Linked DNA regions of Homo sapiens: all the other regions are linked to region 4. The links are contacts of gene promoters, found by promoter capture Hi-C in human tissues and cell types (Jung and others, 2019). All regions are on one chromosome and are shown on one strand. The core of a region is centred on a gene start or on the middle of the fragment in contact, and the rest is flanking DNA. Distances in the headings are between cores, read along the strand shown. Region 1 has its middle 54 kb from the start of C13orf42. Region 2 has its middle 43 kb from the start of C13orf42. Region 3 has its middle 23 kb from the start of C13orf42. Region 4 holds the start of TRIM13 (tripartite motif containing 13). Region 5 has its middle 96 kb from the start of C13orf42. Region 6 has its middle 31 kb from the start of C13orf42. Region 7 overlaps C13orf42 (chromosome 13 open reading frame 42).

Evidence for each region. Contacts are between HindIII fragments. The study calls those that stand out against the background at their distance.
Region 1: a fragment that was not itself captured here is called in contact with the fragment with the promoter of TRIM13 in region 4 in 3 of the 25 tissues and cell types used here (IMR-90 fibroblasts, dorsolateral prefrontal cortex and lymphoblastoid cells).
Region 2: a contact is called between a fragment that was not itself captured here and the fragment with the promoter of TRIM13 in region 4, in 1 of the 25 tissues and cell types used here (dorsolateral prefrontal cortex).
Region 3: a contact is called between a fragment that was not itself captured here and the fragment with the promoter of TRIM13 in region 4, in 1 of the 25 tissues and cell types used here (dorsolateral prefrontal cortex).
Region 5: a contact is called between a fragment that was not itself captured here and the fragment with the promoter of TRIM13 in region 4, in 1 of the 25 tissues and cell types used here (lymphoblastoid cells).
Region 6: a fragment that was not itself captured here is called in contact with the fragment with the promoter of TRIM13 in region 4 in 2 of the 25 tissues and cell types used here (hippocampus and lymphoblastoid cells).
Region 7: a contact is called between a fragment that was not itself captured here and the fragment with the promoter of TRIM13 in region 4, in 1 of the 25 tissues and cell types used here (lymphoblastoid cells).

What each region holds. Positions count from the first base shown.
Region 1 is chr13:51,055,882-51,058,581 of GRCh38, forward strand. It overlaps the pseudogene GUCY1B2. Among named protein-coding and RNA genes, the nearest start is that of C13orf42, 54 kb to the right of the region's middle. The HindIII fragment of the contact is 8,118 bases long and covers 1-2,700 here.
Region 2 is chr13:51,153,256-51,155,955 of GRCh38, forward strand. It overlaps a transcript of C13orf42 not described here. Among named protein-coding and RNA genes, the nearest start is that of C13orf42, 43 kb to the left of the region's middle. The HindIII fragment of the contact is 5,773 bases long and covers 1-2,700 here.
Region 3 is chr13:51,132,926-51,135,625 of GRCh38, forward strand. It overlaps a transcript of C13orf42 not described here. Among named protein-coding and RNA genes, the nearest start is that of C13orf42, 23 kb to the left of the region's middle. The HindIII fragment of the contact is 6,780 bases long and covers 1-2,700 here.
Region 4 is chr13:49,995,649-49,998,348 of GRCh38, forward strand. TRIM13 (tripartite motif containing 13) reads left to right here and starts at 1,394. Exons shown (of 2, transcript NM_213590.3): 1 at 1,394-2,115. DLEU2 (deleted in lymphocytic leukemia 2) reads right to left here. Exons shown (of 14, transcript NR_152566.1): 11 at 1,426-1,771. It overlaps MIR3613 (microRNA 3613), which reads right to left and starts at 853; the gene lies at 767-853. RefSeq lists silencers at 361-410, 1,001-1,130 and an enhancer at 691-820. The HindIII fragment of the contact is 11,924 bases long and covers 1-2,700 here.
Region 5 is chr13:51,014,256-51,016,955 of GRCh38, forward strand. It overlaps the pseudogene GUCY1B2. Among named protein-coding and RNA genes, the nearest start is that of C13orf42, 96 kb to the right of the region's middle. The HindIII fragment of the contact is 6,465 bases long and covers 1-2,700 here.
Region 6 is chr13:51,079,147-51,081,846 of GRCh38, forward strand. No RefSeq gene overlaps it. Among named protein-coding and RNA genes, the nearest start is that of C13orf42, 31 kb to the right of the region's middle. The HindIII fragment of the contact is 3,142 bases long and covers 1-2,700 here.
Region 7 is chr13:51,099,062-51,101,761 of GRCh38, forward strand. All of the region lies in intron 1 of C13orf42 (chromosome 13 open reading frame 42), which reads right to left. Among named protein-coding and RNA genes, the nearest start is that of C13orf42, 11 kb to the right of the region's middle. The HindIII fragment of the contact is 4,613 bases long and covers 1-2,700 here.

The DNA.
Region 1 (2,700 bases), core at 143-2,642, 1.1 Mb after region 4:
CTTAGAGATTCTGATGAAAACTATGAACCCTCTCCCCAGAAAATACATATAGTCACATGTACACGACATTTTAATAGATGACTTCGGAGGGTTCTCAGACCTTCTCAAGCCTATCCATGAACCTTTGGTTAAGAACCCATGACATAGAGAGAAGCCATGTAATCCCACCCACCTCTCTCCTAAATGGGTTGGTTGGGCTTGGTAGTCATCCATCCACCTCTCATTCATTTATTCATCTTCCATTCATACACACATGAATCATCCAATCATTCATTCCGTTTTCATGTATTTATTTATACAATGGAGAATATACGTCAGTCCTGATGGCTCTACCCATTACCTCTTCTTAGAGACCCCACCCTCCAAAGTCCATCTGAATGGGATACATATGGACTCCAGACCAAAGACCATCAAACCCTCTTTCTCAGGCATCTGCAATTGAGGCACTGAGAAACTGAGCCAGTCTGATGATGGTGATCTCTTGAATCCAAAGGGCATATAGAAAAGCTTGGAAGAAACAGAAATTAAGTCCAATCATGGTGGCATATACCTGTAATCCCAGCACTTTGAGAGGCTGAGGCAAGAGGATCACTTAAAGTCAGGAGTTTGAGACCAGCCTGGGCAACAAAGCAAAAGCCTGTCTCACCAAAAAATAAAATAAGATAACCAGGCACAGTGCCATGTGCCTCTTATCCTAGCTACTCAGGAGGCTGAGGCAGGAGGATCACTTGAGCCCAGGATTTGAGGCTGCACTGACCTATGAACATGCCACTGCACTCCAGCCTGGGTGACAGAAAAAAAAAAAAGGAACAGAAATCAAAAGACTTTCAGAGAGAAGAGATAACCAGGAAAATAGAGTAAACGTGAAGGGAGATGCAGAGTTGGAAACAGACCTGCTGACTTTCTGTTTCCTCTGAGATTTATCTGTACTTCCTGCAATTGAGTTCTGTTAGAGTCTTCTGAATCTTTATAGTAACTCCTTTAAACATTAGCTTACATAGTGGATTGCTGATCCTTGGAAGTAAAATCCTGGACTAAGTTCTGCAAACAAAGTGCCAAGGGGATGTTAGCCACCTCACCTATGCTCACAAGTGGATGAGGTGAGCACCATGATTATCTCCATTCACAAGTGACCACACCAAAGCTCAGAAACTTCAGTAACCCATTGTCATTAGAAGAAAAGTTCAGCTCCTTCTCATCTTCTACACATTTATATGTCCTGATCCCTAAAACCCTCTCCACCTTCATCTCCTATCAGACTCCTCACATATGATATTCCAAGCATGTTAGATTTTTTTCTTCACTGAGTTCAGTCTGACCTCAGGACCTTTGCACTTGCCATTTTCTCTGGAACACATATAACTTCTCTGTCTTGAGGCTGACTCCTTCCTTCCTTTCAGTTCAAACATTACCTTTGCCAAGAGGTTTTCTCTAACCAGCTCAGGGCAACTGGCATCTTCTCTGCCCAGTCACCACTAAATACTCTAAATTTAGCTCTTTGCACAACCTGAGATTTATTTGTTTATTTGCCTGTTTACTGTCCTCCCCATTGGAATACATTCCCAGGGAACACAGCACTTGCCTATTCCTTTTGCCTCTATTCCCAGTGCCTGAAACTTTGTTCAGCACATTCTAGAAGCTAAATACTTGTTGAATAAATACATTTGCCCAAGTCAAACAGCAAGTAAGTGATCCAGGCAAAATGTAAAGGTTTATCTGATTCCAAAGGCCTTACTCTTCCTAATCCATTAGTTCCTTCTCATTGTTAAATTTCAATAAAGGTTTTAACCAAAAGATTATAAACAAGCAATTTAGGCCAGGCACGGTGGTTCACACCTGTAATCCCAGCACTTTGGGAGGCTGAGGCAGGAGGATCTCTTGAGGCCAGGAGTTCACAAACAGACTGGGCAACATAGAGAGATTTTGTCTCTAAAAAAAAAAATTTTTTTTTTAAATTAGCTGGACATGGTGGTGCATTCCTGTAGTCCCAGCTACTCTGGTGGCTGAGGTGGAAGGATCACTTAAGCTCAAGGGTTTGAGACTGCAGTGAGCTATGATCGTACCACTGTACTCCAGCCTGAGTGACAGAGTGAGACCCTGTCTCTTAAAAAAAAAAAAAAAAAGAGTGATTTATAATTAGAAATCTACAAATCTAGACTATAAGAGAGGAAAATACTGCAAGCAAAGGAGGAGAAACATCTGTTTCCTATTTCATGTTAAGATAAAATTTATGTCATAAGGTCTGGAAACATGCTTCATTTTACCTAATCATTTCTTCTTAAAATTTCTGTAGGAATTGATGGGTTTTTTCTTTCTCAGCTGAAATTCTACTCTAAAAGCATTAGGGAATTTGTTATTTAAATGTGGCCTAAGCAAATCCTTTTGCACAGCCAATAATCTCACCTTAATTTCTCCTTTAAAAGCTGAGTTTTCTGCACTAGTTTTTTTTTCTTTTTTCTTTTTAGTAAATTCTAATATGATGCAATTTTCATAGCTGGTGGACTTCTTAGATTGGCTTTATTTTTGGCTTAAAGATGCATTTCCAATGCAATCGTATAGATGTCTAGTGCTCTGTATACAAACATCCTGAGACCCAGTTAAGCAGATAATTGAAACTTCAAGATGAAAGAGATAAAACCTAATGACACAAGCGCAGGATGTACCCTGCTGGGTTCTCTATTCCCAGACATATTTCTCTGG
Region 2 (2,700 bases), core at 166-2,665, 1.2 Mb after region 4:
AGGGTCCTGCTGAGCAACCACTGCCCCCTTTTCCTGCCCTCCTCAGAGTGTGGGAGCCAGGCATGCACCCCCTGCATGCCCAGGGCATCAAGATGAGGTCCTGGGCACCTATAAGTGTCTGCACTCACCCAATGCCTATGCTTGTGCCCAAGGGAGTGTGACACTCAATACCAAATAAAAAAACATGACAGAGAGAGAGAGAGAGACAGAGATAGAGACTGTGAGAGAGAAAGCTTTTCTCCTACTTTAAAAAAAATTGTAGTAAAAATTATGTAACATAAAATTACTCTCTTAACCATTTTAAGTGTACTGCTCAGTTGTGTTAAATACATTCACGTTGTTATCAACCCATTTTCTTGCTTTCTGTTTTTTTTCTTTTTTTTTTTTTTTTTTTTTTTTTTGGAGACAGGATCTCGCTTTGTCGCCCAGGCTGGAATGCAGTGATGCAATCTCTCAGCTCACTGCAACCTCCGTCTCCTGAGCTCAAGTGATTCTCCCACCTCAGCCTCCCAAATAGCTGGGACTACAGGTGCATTCCTAGCTAAGTTTTGTATGTTTAGTAGAGAAAGGATTTCGCCATGTTGTCCAGGCGGGTCTCAGACTCCTGGGCTCAAGCAATCTACCGCCTCGGCCTCCCAGAGTGCTGAGATTACAGGATTGAGCCACCATGCCTGACCCAACCCATCTTCAAAACTGTTTTCTTCTTGCAAAACTAAAATGTGATACCCATTACTCCCCATTTTCCCCTACCCCCAGCCCCTGACAACCACCATTCTACTTCCTATCTCTATGAATTTGACAACTCCGGTACGTCACACAAGTGAATCATACAGCTTTTGTGTTTTTGTGACTGGCTTATTTCACTCAGCATAATGTCCTTGGGGTTCTTCGTGAGTAGCATGTGTCAGAATTTCCTTCCTTTTTTAAGCTGAATAATATTCCATTGTGTGTCTATGTCACATTTTGTTTATCCATTCATCTGTAGATGGACATTTAAGTTCCACCTTTTGGCTATTGTAAGTAATGCTGCCATGAACACGGTATGCAACTATCTCTTTGAGTCCCTGCTTTCGATTCTGTTGGGTATGTTTGGAAGTGGAATTGCTGAGTCATAGGGACTCCTGCTTTTTGAACACACATTTTCATTTTGAACTGGGCTGTTTAAATTATACAATTATACAGCTGGCTCTGCACATGCCCAGTTAGGGTGCGTATGAATCACAGTGTCGGAGGACTGTTCTGCTTCAGCCAATGGAACTAAGGACTAAAGACTTTCCATGTTTGACCTGATAGTGTCACCACCAGAGTGGAGCAAGCGAGAAAAGTAAGAGACTGAGCAAGAGTGCTCACCCTCAAGTGTCCCCACCAGTCAGAAGCAGCATGTATTGACATTCATGGCTGTAGAACATTCTGGAACTGGTTTTCATTTATCAATGCATGCATTATTTCTTCCAATGCATATGTATTAAACCTCAGCTACGTGCCAGACCTCGTTGAAGACACTGAGGATAAAGCAGTAAACAATGCATGGAAGGGTCTTCCATGCAAGTCAGACAAGTAAACTAATTGCACATTCGACGGTTTCTTGTGAAAAGTTCTATAAAGGGGAAATGTTGGGCCCTGAGCCCAAGGGTAGAAAGCAGGCTGTGCATGAGTCACTGTCCTGCTTTTAAGGGGCCGGTAAGGTAGGACAGGAGTTTCCAAAGTGGTACGTGAGATGATCTTAGGTAGAACGTTTTATCTTTTCTTTTTAATAGGTACATATTCAGTTTAACGTATGTTTAGAAATATATATCTAATACCTCAAACCCTCAATTCTTAACTATCTCCTGGATGATGCTCAATTTAAAAAGGAGTTCATGTAAAATGAATAAATATAAGCTAAATATTAAAGCCTATTATGTTGTTATTAAAATAAATAAATAATGCAGGAGCTACATGAATAAGACCTAAACATTTAAAGATTGCAACTCAAAAAAACTACATTTTGGAAACTCCTTGTGGGTTTTAAAGATAACTTTTTTAATACAGACATATTTTTAAGAAGAGTATAACTAGGGCTAAGATACAAGTAAGTCCATGGGGAAAGGGAAGCAGCTGTGTTTGAGAGGAGCTCCTAACCCAATTTAGGGGATTCAAGAAAGGCTTCCAAGAAAATTGCTTCATGCAATGAATTTTGTTCCTTGAATTACTCAGTCCAGGTGTATTTGTGTGAACTCTTCAAGTATGAGCGCTGGAAACCCACTACAGCCAGTTTAAGCAGGAGGGGTAATTTGCAGATGAGGATGCTGGGTGATCCCACAGTGGCTCAGGCCTCAGAGTGACCCACCTCTCTCAATCTCTGCTCCTGGTCCCCACTCTTATCTGAGGCTCTGCTTTACCTCTCACACTCGCTGCACACTTCCTTTCTCAGTATATTTCCAAGTGGACAAGATGGAAAACGGCTACCGCATTCTTCTATTTATATCTCTTCCATTCAAAGACAATCTCAACTGATGTTACCATTTCTTACTTCCAAGTCTTGACTTCTGGGGAAGAGACTCTGGTCAGGCATCACAGGTGACCTCAGAGGCGGGGTCTTGTTCACACAAGGACAACTGTCACCACGTGGTCAGGGAGGGGAAAATTACCAGAATCCAGATGGGAATGGGGTTGGAGATCCAGGCAGAAAACCTGATGGCACAAGCTGGAAAAGTCCTC
Region 3 (2,700 bases), core at 2-2,501, 1.1 Mb after region 4:
TGACCACTGGTCGTCCTCACTGCTACACCCTCACCAGCGCCATGACAGTTTACAAATGCCATGGCAACATCAGGAAGTTATACTATATGGTCTACAAAGGGGAGGCATGAATAATCCACCCCTTGTTTGGCATACAATCAAGAAATAACCATAAAAATGGGCAACCAGCAGCTTTCAGGGCTGCTCTGTCTGTGGAGTAGCCATTCCTTTATTCCTCTACTTTCTTAATAAACTTACTTTCACTTTACTATACGGACTCACCGTGAATTCTTTCTTGCACAAGATCCAAGAACCCTCTCTTGAGATCTGGATTGGTACCCCTTTCCAGTAACACCTAGAGTAGTCAGATTCATAGAGAAGGGAAATAGAATGTGGTTACCAAGAGCTGGGAGAGGGGAGGACGGGGAGTTGCTATTTAATAGGCACAGAGTTTCTGTTTGAGGGAATGGGGAAGTTCTAGAGGTGGGAAGTGATGTTTGCACAACATTGTGAATGTACTTAATGCCACTCATTTTACACCTAAAGATGGTTAAAATTGTGAATTTTAGTTATGTATATTTTATCACAATTTTAAAAACTATAAAAAATTTTCTCTACTGAACATGTACTATTTTTAATTTTTTTATTTATTAAATATATATTTTTTAATTAAAGTTGGCAATTTCAGAAACACTCTGGGAGCCCTGGGGCTGGGTCAGCCTGGCCTGCAGCACAGCCCCAATGGGCCCCAGGAAAGGTGTGGGTGCCCGGGTGCCTTCCCTTGGTCTGAGCACTGTTCTGTGTGCACTGAGGTCTGATGCACATGGGCCTCCCCAGTGGCTGTCAACCTTTTGCCTCCTGCATCTCGAACTCTGTGCCACCGTGTGTCCAAGAGAAAAATGAGACAGAAGAGGGGGCTCTGTGATACCAGACATCTGGAAACTGACTCCAAAGGGCCTGTGCTGAGCAACATGGAGTTTTACAAACGACAGAAGCTATCTTGAGGACAGGGGACAAAAGCCAGGGAAGCCTTCCTGGGGTCCTCTACACCAGCCCTCAGGAGAGCAGGCATCCGCACACCTGCAGCATCCTGTGCACGCTCACACCATGTTCCTTCCACCCACCATCCACCAACACCACTGCTCCCAGAAACTCCCTTGGGAAGGTGAGCTTGTAGGTAATTTATGGTTTCTTTGCAGAATTTCCTGAAAATCTAAGTCCATTTACCTGCCTTCTCAGGACCAAAAATAGCAGCAATCTAGCCCAAATCCTCACCTCCCTGTGTCCCCTGACCCTAATATGTCCCAAACTTTCCCAATTCTAATCCACCCCCACATCAAAAACTCACTCACTCAGGGTTCAACATATTCAATGACCACCACATTTGCCCTCTTTTCTGAGGCACTCCTCAGTCTCAGAATCCCCTTTACTGGGGTATGTAATGAACTTGGCTTTGCCTTAACACCAAGCTGTTTTGGTGTGGTTTGGGGAGCCACCATCCCATCTGATACTCAACTGCTGTGGACAGATACCTCTCGGCAAAGGGGCCGTTACAGAGTGTAGAGTCAGTGATCTTCCTACAAACTCTAAATCCTTTGGGATTTATGATGGTTAATAGGCAAGAATGAACATATACTCATTTCTCCAACTTAACTGTTTTCCAATTCTTGTTCTTTTATTAAACAAACAAGCAAGGCAGGAAATTCCTCCTGTCTGAGGTTAATTTGATCACCAGCATCAAAAACCTGCTGGGCCCAGCTCCAGCTGAGAGGATATGAGCACATTCTCTACCCCAGAGCAATTTCTGTGACTGCTTAGGGTATTTGCCTCCCTTTTCTTATGAACAGGACCAAATCCACCTAGAAAGAGGGAAGGGGTCTTTTGTGGTGCCACCTTAAGAGGACAAGAAACTCTTTCAGCACATCAGGTTACAAGTCTGATGGCCTCAGAGATTGGTCTGCCTGCAGTAACACCTCCCGGCCTTCCCTCCTGACCTGGATGGAGCCACCAGCCGCAGCGGGGTAAGATTGAGAGTCCAAAGGCCCTAGGCCTTGTGAATGACTGACTCCATGCCAGGTACACATGCAGTCATCAGAGCACTGAAGGCGCTGCCCTCCTCTCCCACCCCTTGCCTGCCCTGGGCAAAGCTCACCCAACCTCTTGAACCCTCGGGAGGCCTCTTGGGAGCCAGTTTTCAGGGCCGGCTCTGGAGCTGCACCTGTGGCTGTCAGAGGAGGGAGGAACCAGACTGCCCACAGCTGCTCAGCCTGGCAGTGGAACTGTGAGAGTACAAGAGGTTCTCAGTGCAGCTGCGGCTACAACTGAGGCTGAGTAGAGCAGCCAGGAGCCTGGAGAGAGACCAGGTGGAGAGAATGAGAGAAGGTGCTAAGATGGATCTGATACTCCCTGGGCAGCCACAGACCTCCGAGCCTTTGCTTAATTCCTCACCCCCTTGGCAGGGCACAGTGGTTCACGCCTATAATCCCAGTGCTTTGGGAGGCCTAGATGGGAGGATCTGGGAGGATTGCTTGAGGCCAGGAGTTTGAGACCAGCCTGGGCAACACAGAGAGATCCCATCTATTTTTTTTAATGTTTTTAATTGACCAGTCATGGTGGCAGGCGCCTGTAGTCCCAGCTACTCAGTAGACTGTAGCAAGAAGATTGCTTGAGCCCAGGAATCCGAGGCTGCAATGAGCTATGATCACACTACTGCACTCCAGC
Region 4 (2,700 bases), core at 144-2,643:
TTTCTTATAGCAGGAAGGGAGATGCACACAGAGAAGTGGGAATCTCAGGAGACGGATGTGGCCAGGGGCTTTTTACGGGGGTTGGGCTAAGCATTATTAGTCAACGGGCTGTACTGCTATTTATGGTAGGTTTTGAATACCGTTTCTCCAAAATAACCTATTTCCTCCCCAAACCCAAACTTCCTCAACTGGGATCGAACTCAATCCTACAGCGTGTTCTGAGATTCTATACTCGCCTCACTTCTCCCAAGATCGTAAATTCTGGAGGAGCCATTCCTTCATCATCCATGTTTGCATCCTTCACACCGTTCACTGGTTAAGTGCTTAGTACGTTTGCTATTGGGCAAGGTCCTCAAACGGGAGGTGGACGTCAGAATAGTCAGGTTATCGACTGAGTAACTGTTAGTGGTGGATAATTTAAAGCCAATTTGAAAGTTCATCCTTTCCCCCAAAGGCAAAAACAGGCGTTCCTTTTCTTAAAAGAGAATTTTAAATAGAATTGGGTCTCTGGTGTCCTGCCTAAAGCCCGCAAAGAAAGAGGGTACGGTTGGGGGTGGGGGTGATGGGGGATACTGAACCCTTTTCTGGTTGCGCCTTGCCCGGAGCCCCCGGCTAGAGCCCTGGCGCTCCTGGCGCGCTCCCAACGCGAATCGGTGACTCCGCAGGCCGCGCAGTGCGGAGGTGCCCGTCCCACCCTCCCCCTTGTGGGGTGCGGGGCTCCATTTCCCCAAGCCGCTGGGGTCGGCTTCTGGTCTTGAGATGCGGATGAAGTGGTGTGAAGGGTTGGGCTTTTTTTTTTGTTCCTAAAAATGCAACGAACAAAAAAAAAAGTACAACAATCCAAACCCAACCATCTTAATTGCACGGCAGCTTAACTGGGAGACTTTCTTCCCGGGCGGCCCCACCCGGGACCGCGCCGCTTCAGTCGAGCCCACCGTCTGGGCAAACGGCGTCCACTTCCCGGAGCCGCTGCCCAGCCTCTGCGGGGGGGCTTTGGGCGGGCGCAGGACTCTGGAAGGGAGAAAAGCCCGCAGCCCGGCCCTCCCCGTCCCAGGCGGCCCGCGCGGGTGGACGGCGGGAGCAGGCGGCGGTTGGAGACGCCGGAAGGAACGCGGTCTCACCACCCGGCTCCCTCCGCCAAGGCGAGGCGCGGCCGGGGAGGCGGGACACAGGCGAAGCGGGACGGGGAGGCGGGGCCGGAGGTGCAGGCGGAGGCGGGCGACGGGGAAGGGAGGGGGAGGGGGAGGGGAAAGGGAGGGGGAGGGGGAGGGGAAAGGGAGGGGGAGGGGGGAAGGGACGGGAGGGGAGGGGGAAGGGACGGGAGGGGAGGGGGAAGGGACGGGAGGGGAAGGGGAAGCGGGAGAGGGAAGGGGGCGGAGCTAGCCGGAGCCGCGAGTCCATTTTGGGGCTGTGCTTGGCGCGTACCGTGCGGTCCCTGTAGTTGGAGGACGGGCGGTCGCGCGGCCTTTCCCACTAGCCGGAGGTCGGAGATAAGTACCCGCCGCCCGGCTCCTCTCGGGAAAGCGGGGTGGTCCTCGAACCTTCAGCGAGGGTGGGGAGTTGCCCAGGTCAGCAGGGATCTGCGTGGGTTGGGGGGGCTGGCGAAGGCCGTCTGAGCTCCAGTCCGGCAGCGCGGCAGAAACCAGCGGGGCACTGTCATGGGCCTGGGGAGGAGCGGCCTGCGGAGGGCGCCGGGGCAGTGTGTCTGTGGTCCAGAAAACCTGCTCCGTCCGGAGCCTTCCTGGCCCCGCTACCAGCGTCTCCACATCCCCTAGAAAAGAAAAGACGGGTGTGGGCCTTAGGTTACAGCGCGCCGCCAGCGTTTGGTTGCATGGCGCCGGGGGAGGGCGCCCTAACCGAGAAGCTGCTTAATACAAAGAGCTCCAGGCTCCTGGCGGTTCACCAGGTCTAAACAGCCGGGCTTTATTTGTGGGGGCGATTGAAAAAATTGAGGGTCAAGATTGGGGTGCTGTGCAAATAAATGCGTTAATACTGTTCTTTTTCTTCTTTCTTTGCAGTAGCCTCTAGTTCGTTAGTCAAAACGTGAAAAAAAAGACCTGCTTTGCCCTGGGAAATAGTAACCCTGCCAAATACATCAGCTTGTAGGAGACAGAGGTAAACTACAATAATTTTCCTGTGTTATCTTTTTTTTTTAAACACCCAATTTCAATAGGCCCTAGAACCTTCCAAAATGGAACTGTGTGTAGAATACGTATGTTCCCATCCACTTTCATTGGTGGTCTTTGTTCTTTGCATATTTTGTTAAAACTTAGAAAAACAGAATTCACGTTTAGCAATTATTTATGTGGTATTTATCTTAAATATAGCCAAACATTCATATTACAAAGGAAGAAAGGGGCTTCCACACTTTTTTCCTACTTTTTTTTCCCTTCTCCTATGCTTAGTGAATTGTCAGGCTGCTAGGGCTTGTAGAACAGGGCTTGAGTTTTCTAGAGACCTTTATATAATAGGCACTTTAAAAGCAGAATTTCATTTACATAGGCACTCCTTCTAGTAGAACTTGATGGAGCTGTTAACCGGCTATACTTCCTTCTTGCACAATGGGAGCGTCCCTATCCCTCCCTAAAAATACGTTTTTTTTCCTTTCTCCCAGCTGGCTTACTAAACCTCCCTGGGAAGTCCTTTCCTAAAACCGGGCTGTTCTGTTCATTCTATACATTTATGATAGGTTATCTGGCC
Region 5 (2,700 bases), core at 41-2,540, 1.0 Mb after region 4:
GTGGCTGGGACTCTTTGGCATTCTAACCTGTTGTTTCAGCCCTGTGACCATTAAAAGTCCACTAAAATTTAGACGGGATTATCCCTACCCTCACCTCTGGTGGATTACTTCTTCTGCTGCCCTGCCAGGATTGAATGCAATTATGGGTGTCTTCTCTTTGAAAGGTTTGTCACTTCCTGGAATTTAGTTTATTTTGATTCCTTTGCTTTCTGGTGGGGGAAAAAAAACTGCTAGCATGGGAACAACAGTCTCTTACAGCTTTCTACATCCTAATCAGATTGCTTGTTGTTTTTACTTGCTAGATTTTCTTCTGCTTGAAATAAAATTATAATTTCTCTAGGAAAACAGGATTCTCTGAACCCTTCAAAGCACCTAGTAATACTGTCTCATACATGGATGGATCTCAGTAAATGTATATTAAAGCTATATGAATAAAATAATAGAATATCTCAGTGCAAAATAATTGCACAATTCTGTTAAGAGAGAAAGTGTTTCCAGTTCTCTCCCCTACATCCTTGAATAAACCCATATGATATGCTGTTTCTGGTGGATATTTAATGATGCTCCTAATTATGTCCATAGTCTTACCTTGGAATTGCTAACATCCTTTCCTATTTTTTTCTTGGTAAATCCACCTTGAGAGTTTCCAACAATTCATTGTCTAATTTCATTCTTATTGGTGTAGCATTATTTTCATCTCTGGCGCTATGCCCCTTTCATACACACATGCACACACACACACACGCACACACACACACACGCACACTATGCTTTCCATTTTTATTTTTATTTTTCACCAGTGACTTACACAAGCATCCTTTAACTGAAACATTTATCTCTTATCTAACCTTCTTATATCTCTTCCCTCATTGCCTCTCATCCTGATTTTTTATTTATTACATTGGATTTTTATTCCACTGATGCACACTGTGTTTACAATGAGTCATTATGGCAGCTATCTTGTTCTTGTGACTATCTAAGGCCAGCTTTTACTTAGAAGACTACAGTGGATGCTGTAGCCATGATCTGCACTGTTTCTCAGCTTCTAACTCACCATGGTCAGAGTGAGTGCAGCAGATTTTCAGAATCTCCTGTAAAAAGTTATAATGTGGAAAAATCATATTCCATCTTATAATTGGCTTTGTTTATTTTGAATTGACTAGTTTATTTTAAATTTCTGACTGATATTAGCAGAGGAAGGACCTAGAAATCAAAGGCAGAGAGACGCCACTCTCAGCCATCCCAGGAGCATTAGGATCTGCTGAGCCAGCGGAGGAGGACATTCATTTTTCACCTCCAAAACTGTTCAACTTTTAGAGTGTGAACAAACTTCCAGACTTGGAAGCGTACTTTTCTGTGAGAAAGGCGAGCAGATGTCTCGCTAGTGGCCACTTGGTGGAAGGAAAGCCATTCTGAATATCTTACGGCATCACGGTGCCTGGCCTGCTGACTGCAGGCAGCCTCACACCTCAGCCTGAGTTCTGAACCTGTCAGATGGCATGTTGGAGACACAATTTCCTAAGCAGGAAAAGTTGGCTGCTCATTAAACCTGAACCACTTGTTGAAATGCTTGAACATAAAAGCAGGAATTATAAATGAGCTGGTGTTTAAGATGGATTGAGCCCTGCTAGGTAAATAGGAAGAACTGCTCAGCACTGTCCTGAATTACCAACAAAGGAAGCTTGCAGTCAATCGTAGGAAAACCTTGAGCACCGCAGCCTCCTCTGAAATTTGAGAAAAGTTGAGACTATAGGAGCCTTAGGAATATCTCTATTAGGGACATATGCAAGAGAAGAAAAGGGCTAGGATACATTACCCATTTTAATGACAGCAACTTACCCAGTAATCACCTAAGCACATAAGCAGAATTCTACTTTTGTGTGTGAGATGTTTGGCATTAAGCCAAGTACTCAGTTGCTCTCTACCTGGATGGGTTCTCCAGTAACAGGATTCGTCACTTCCTTTGCAGAAATTCTCATCCCCAAGGCAAAATTAGCCACTCTTTGAGCATGGTTTCCAATAGGCACTGGTACACCTCCTACCACCATATAAGCATCTCCTATTGTTTCTACCTGTCAGGGAAAAAAAAATAGGTATTCAGAGGGATTCCTTCATGCACTAAACATGTCACTACACTTTTTTTCATTTTCCATATATAGACAAAGGGACTATACTAAAGCTGGTAATTGATTCTTTGCTAAGGGTATGAGGAGCATGAGGGAGGAGGTGAGAAAGAAAAGGACTCAGGAAACAACCATGAGAGAGCCAAAAGGCCTTTCTGCTTTTGGTGGAAACAAATCCCAGAAAAGACGAAGCTCCTGGGGTAGTCATGTGATGCTATATATGAGATAACACATTGTTTAGATTCGATTTTCTGCTGAATTTAGGAGTAGGAGAACTACACTCTATGAAAACACCTGACATCTAGGTGCCCCTCAAGGGCACCAGAGTGCCATCTTAGCACTGAGCATTGTAAAAAGAATTTCTAAAAACTAGAATTCCTAAAATACTTCCAATTCCCTTTCAGCTTTTATTCTGACCCCACACTCATCCACACCAAACCCCAGACCAGTGCAGACAGAGGCAAAGGGAGACTTAGAATCAAGCACTCGCCCTGCGTGAGCACACCGTGAAACACCCCACACTGCACAGACACTTACTTTATAGACTGCGTGCACACTGGTTAATCTGTCAAACTTG
Region 6 (2,700 bases), core at 153-2,652, 1.1 Mb after region 4:
CCCCCACTCTCTTCTGGCTTGTAGGGTTTCTGCCGAGAGATCCGCTGTTAGTCTGATGGGCTTCCCTTTGAGGGTAACCCGACCTTTCTCTCTGGCTGCCCTTAACATTTTTTCCTTCATTTCAACTTTGGTGAATCTGACAATTATGTGTCTTGGAGTTGCTCTTCTCGAGGAGTATCTTTGTGGTGTTCTCTGTATTTCCTGAATCTGAACGTTGGCCTGCCTTGCTAGATTGGGGAAGTTCTCCTGGACAATATCCTGCAGAGTGTTTTCCAACTTGGTTCCATTCTCCCTGTCACTTTCAGGTACACCAATCAGACGTAGATTTGGTCTTTTCACATAGTCCCATATTTCTTGGAGGCTTTGCTCATTTCTTTTTATTCTTTTTTCTCTAAACTTCTCTTCTCACTTCATTTCATTCACTTCATCTTCCATCGCTGATACCCTTTCTTCCAGTTGATCGCATCGGCTCCTGAGGCTTCTGCATTCTTCACATAGTTCTCGAGCCTTGGTTTTCAGCTCCATCAGCTCCTTTAAGCACTTCTCTGTATTGGTTATTCTAGTTATACATTCTTCTAAAATTTTTTCAAAGTTTTCAACTTCTTTGCCTTTGGTTTGAATGTCCTCCTGTAGCTCAGAGTAATTTGATCGTCTGAAGCCTTCTTCTCTCAGCTCGTCAAAGTCGTTCTCCATCCAGCTTTGTTCCGTTGCTGGTGAGGAACTGCGTTCCTTTGGAGGAGGAGAGGCGCTCTGCTTTTTAGAGTTTCCAGTTTTTCTGTTCTGTTTTTTCCCCATCTTTGTGGTTTTATCTACTTTTGGTCTTTGATGATGGTGATATACAGATGGTTTTTTGGTGTGGATGTCCTTTCTGTTTGTTAGTTTTCCTTTAACAGACAGGACCCTCAGCTGCAGGTCTGTTGGAGTACCCTGCCCTGTGAGGTGTCAGTGTGCCCCTGCTGGGGGGGTGCCTCCCAGTTAGGCTGCTCGGGGGTCAGGGGTCAGGGACCCACTCGAGGAGGCAGTCTGCCCGTTCTCAGATCTCCAGCTGAGTACTGGGAGAACCACTGCTCTCTTCAAAGCTGTCAGACAGGGACATTTAAGTCTGCAGAGGTTACTGCTGCCTTTTTGTTTGTCTGTGCCCTGCCCCCAGAGGTGGAGCCTACAGAGGCAGGCAGGCCTCCTTGAGCTGTGGTGGGCTCCACCCAGTTGGAGCTTCCCGGCTGCTTTGTTTACCTAAGCAAGCCTGGGCAATGGCGGGCGCCCCTCCCCCAGCCTCGCTGCCGCCTTGCAGTTTGATCTCAGACTGCTGTGCTAGCAATCAGCGAGACTCCGTGGGCGTAGCACCCTCCGAGCCAGGTGCAGGATATAATCTGGTGGTGCACCGTTTTTTAAGCCCGTCGGAAAAGCACAGTATTCGGGTGGGAGTGACCCGATTTTCCAGGTGCCGTCCGTCACCCCTTTCTTTGACTCGGAAAGGGAACTCCCTGACCCCTTGTGCTTCCCGAGTGAGGCAATGCCTCGCCCTGCTTCGGCTCGCACACGGTGCACACACCCACTGACCTGCGCCCACTGTCTGGCACTCCCTAGTGAGATGAACCCGGTACCTCAGATGGAAATGCAGAAATCACCCGTCTTCTGCGTCGCTCACGCTGGGAGCTGTAGACCGGAGCTGTTCCTATTCGGCCATCTTGGCTCCTCCCAATATTGGGCTTTTATAATGAAGCTTAAAAGGGAATTGGGCTGGGTCTGTTAGGACTAGAACATCTTGTGATGCTGTATGGTTGGCTAGATAATGGCTTCCCAAAGATGTTTCCATCCTAATCCCCAGAACCTGTGAATGTCATTTTATATGGCAAAAGATATTTTGCAGATTTGATTAAATTAAGGATTTGGAGATGGAGAGATTGCTCAGGTGAGAGTGATGTAATCACAAAGATCCTTATAAATGGGCCGGGCACGTAGGCTCACACCTGTAATCCCAGCACTTTGGGAGGCCAAGGTGGGCAGATCACCTGAGGTCAGGAGTTCGAGACCAGCCTGACCAACATGGGGAAACCCCGTCTCTACTAAAAATACAAAATTAGCCAGGCATGGTGGCACATGCCTGTAATCCCAGCTACTCAGGAGGCTGAGGCAAGAGAATCACTTGAACCCAGGAGGCAGAGGCTGCGGTGAGCCAAGATCGTGCCCATTGCACTCCAGCCTGGGCAACAAGAGCAAAACTCTGTCTCAAAAAAAAAAAAAAAAATCCTTATAAATGGGAAGCAGGAGCACAGACTGAGCAGGTGGAGACATGATGATGGAATCAATAGGTTGGAGTGATGCAAGGATGGGGTCACCAGCCAAGGAATGCAGGAAGCCCCTGAAAGCTGAAAAAAGCAAGGAAATGGATTCTCCTCTAAAGCTTCCAGAAGGAACACAGCCCTGCCAACATCTTGACCTAACCTGGTGAAACTGATTTTGGTTCTTCTGACTTCCAGACTGTAAAAGCATAAATATATATTGTTTTAAGCCTTTAAGTCTGTGGTAATTTATTACAGCAGCAACAGGAAACTCATTCTCTCTGCAAAGGCGAACAGTGGTGAGAGGAACACAGTGTCCTGTTAGAGACACTTTGGGCTCTGTGTCTGAGAATGGGCACCAGGAAGGTCGGTCTTGGCAGCAATGCTCTCAGTTGCATGGCACATGGCTGGGTACACA
Region 7 (2,700 bases), core at 164-2,663, 1.1 Mb after region 4:
CAATTTAATATTACCAAATAAGGTTTTTCTGGTTTTAAACCTTAAAAGTTTCATCTAGTGCCTCTTTTTTGCCTTTTGCTATCCTTGGGATGGAGGTACAGGACCAAGGCAAAAGTGATACTTATCTATTTCTTTTATATTACAGCACCCAAGGAAATGTATGCTCATAATTGAACAGGGTTTTATGGAAAAAGAATGGGAGTTTATGAAACAAGAACTGTAGACTAGGAAGAAAAAAACTTAGAAAAAAGTATCATCACTGAAATTTAAATACATAGGCACACATAGCCACATACAAATTTTCAATAGATGAGCTAAATAGTCAACTTGCCAGGGCTGAAGAAAAAAATCAGTGAAATAGACAACTGAGCTGAGAAAATTATCACAAAGAGATAAAAATAAGAAGTTTGTCAGAAACTCTAGTATAACTAAACCATGGTATTATCTATTATAACTAAATATTAAAATAGTTTTGGGAGAACAGCTGCATATCTTTTGTTTCTGGTAACAGGTTGTAGACTCACTGGATCCAACTAACAGTTTTAGGCTTACTTTTTCCCCAGCTTTATAATGTTTGTTTTTGTTTGTTTAGAGGCAGAATATCTCTCTGTCACTCAGGCTGGAGTGCAGTGCCGTGACCATCGTTCACAGTGGCCTCGAACTCCTGGCCTCAAGCAATCCTCCTACCTCAGTTTTCCAAAGTGCTGGGATTATAGGGATGAGCCACCTCACCTGGCCCAGCTTTATAATCTTAAAGCCATTACTTATTTTGTTAGCCCCTTGTAACTCCTGGCCTTATATGTCATGTAAATGATCATTTGGCTTTAACAAAACACTAAGTTAATAAAATGTTGCTCATATATATCAAACTGTTAGAAGCCTAACTGATAGAACTGAATTAACAGACTTAAAGCATAGTGTAAAATCTTCACATACAGTAAGTGAAATGTCACAATCCACTAAGAGAAGGAATGTACACTTTTATATACATGCCAGTTGTCAATAAATAGTGTTGGAAAACTTTGCTATTCGGGAAAATTCAAGTTGTGTTCTCAGTTCCTACTACATATCCAAATAAATTGCTGATAGACAAAGGGATTGGTTTTTTTTAAAAAAAAAGAAAAACGGAACTATTAAAAAAAGGATAATATGGCAAATATGCAATTGACCTTGGAACATGGAAGGACTTTCTAAGCATGAAAGCAACGGAAGAAATTACAGACAAAAATTGAAGACACAAAAATAAGTAGTATCTGCACATCAGAAAACGTCAAATAAATGAAAAGAGGTATAATAACTTGGAGAAAATATTTTAACATATATGGAAGACAATGCGCTAATATCCTCAAAAATCCCTGTAAGTAACAAAATATAAGAAGAAGTGTCCCTATAAATAAATAACAAAACTTTAATACAGCCAAAAGAAAATGTATGAAGACATGAATGAACAATCCACTAAATAAGAAGTATGCATTTTTATGACGATAAAAAAGGTCATTCTTCAATGACCCTTTGCAAAGGTCATTATGCAAGCAATAATAAAAGTACCTTAAGATACTGCAATTTATCTATCAAATTGGCAAACTTTTAAAATTAATGACAGTACTTGATGCTGATAAAATGCAAATAGAAGAGCTTATTAGAAACCCACTGTCGATGAAAAGCATAAATTGGTAAAATGTTTCTGGAAAGTAATACGTAAAAGAATCCCTAAAAAATAATGACCTTTGGCCTTCAACCCATTAATCACACTTTAGGAATCTCTGCTAAAAAATGCCTTACAGACATAGAGTAAAATGTGTTTATTTATAACGTTTAGCAATTGTTTGTAGAAGGTGAGTTGTTAAATTTGCCTTTTAAGCTTTTGTTTTCAAAAAGTAGTTAATGAGATGGAAAAGAACTCACAATATATAACATTAACTGAGAAAAGAATACAAAGATGTATATATGGTATGAACCAAATTTAGTACATTTATACATATATGGACATGAGGTTTGCCAGGTTTAACAAATTAAAATAAAGCATGGCAGTTGAAGACTAATTTCAGATAAACAATGAATAATTTTTCATATAAATACATGCCAAATATTACATGGGACATCCTTATACTAAAAAATTCTAATTTTTGCTAGGCATTCTTCATTTTATCTTACAACCCCAATGCACATATGTGCAAATACACAGGAAAATATGACTAAAAGAAAATATACCTAAAAATTATACAGTGAGTACCTCTATCTAGATGGTAGGATTCTAAGATATTTTTATTTTCTTCCCTATACTTTTCTGTGTGTTATGAATTTCATCTTATAAGCAAATATAACTTTATTATCAGAAAAAAATGTATAGCGTGTGTTTTTGATGGTGGGCTCTAATCAATTACATAATGGCTATTTTAATTATTAGGATATGATTCCACATGAATATACGCAAACCATATTCTATTCCACTAAAAAAAAGAAAAGGCATCAAAACCACACACCTATGACTTTTCCAGATCTTCCATCAAAGTTTATAACAGTTTTCTTCTTAAATTACAATTGGAGTTTCTCAGGTAATTGGTTTACTGAGCATCTACCATGTGCCTAAAACCGTGCTAAAGGTCGGAGTTAAAAAGATAAATAAGATATAATGCCTCTGCTCAATGAGCTCACAGTTAGTGGCATAGATAAGCAAAAGAACAGACAATTACAGTGTGC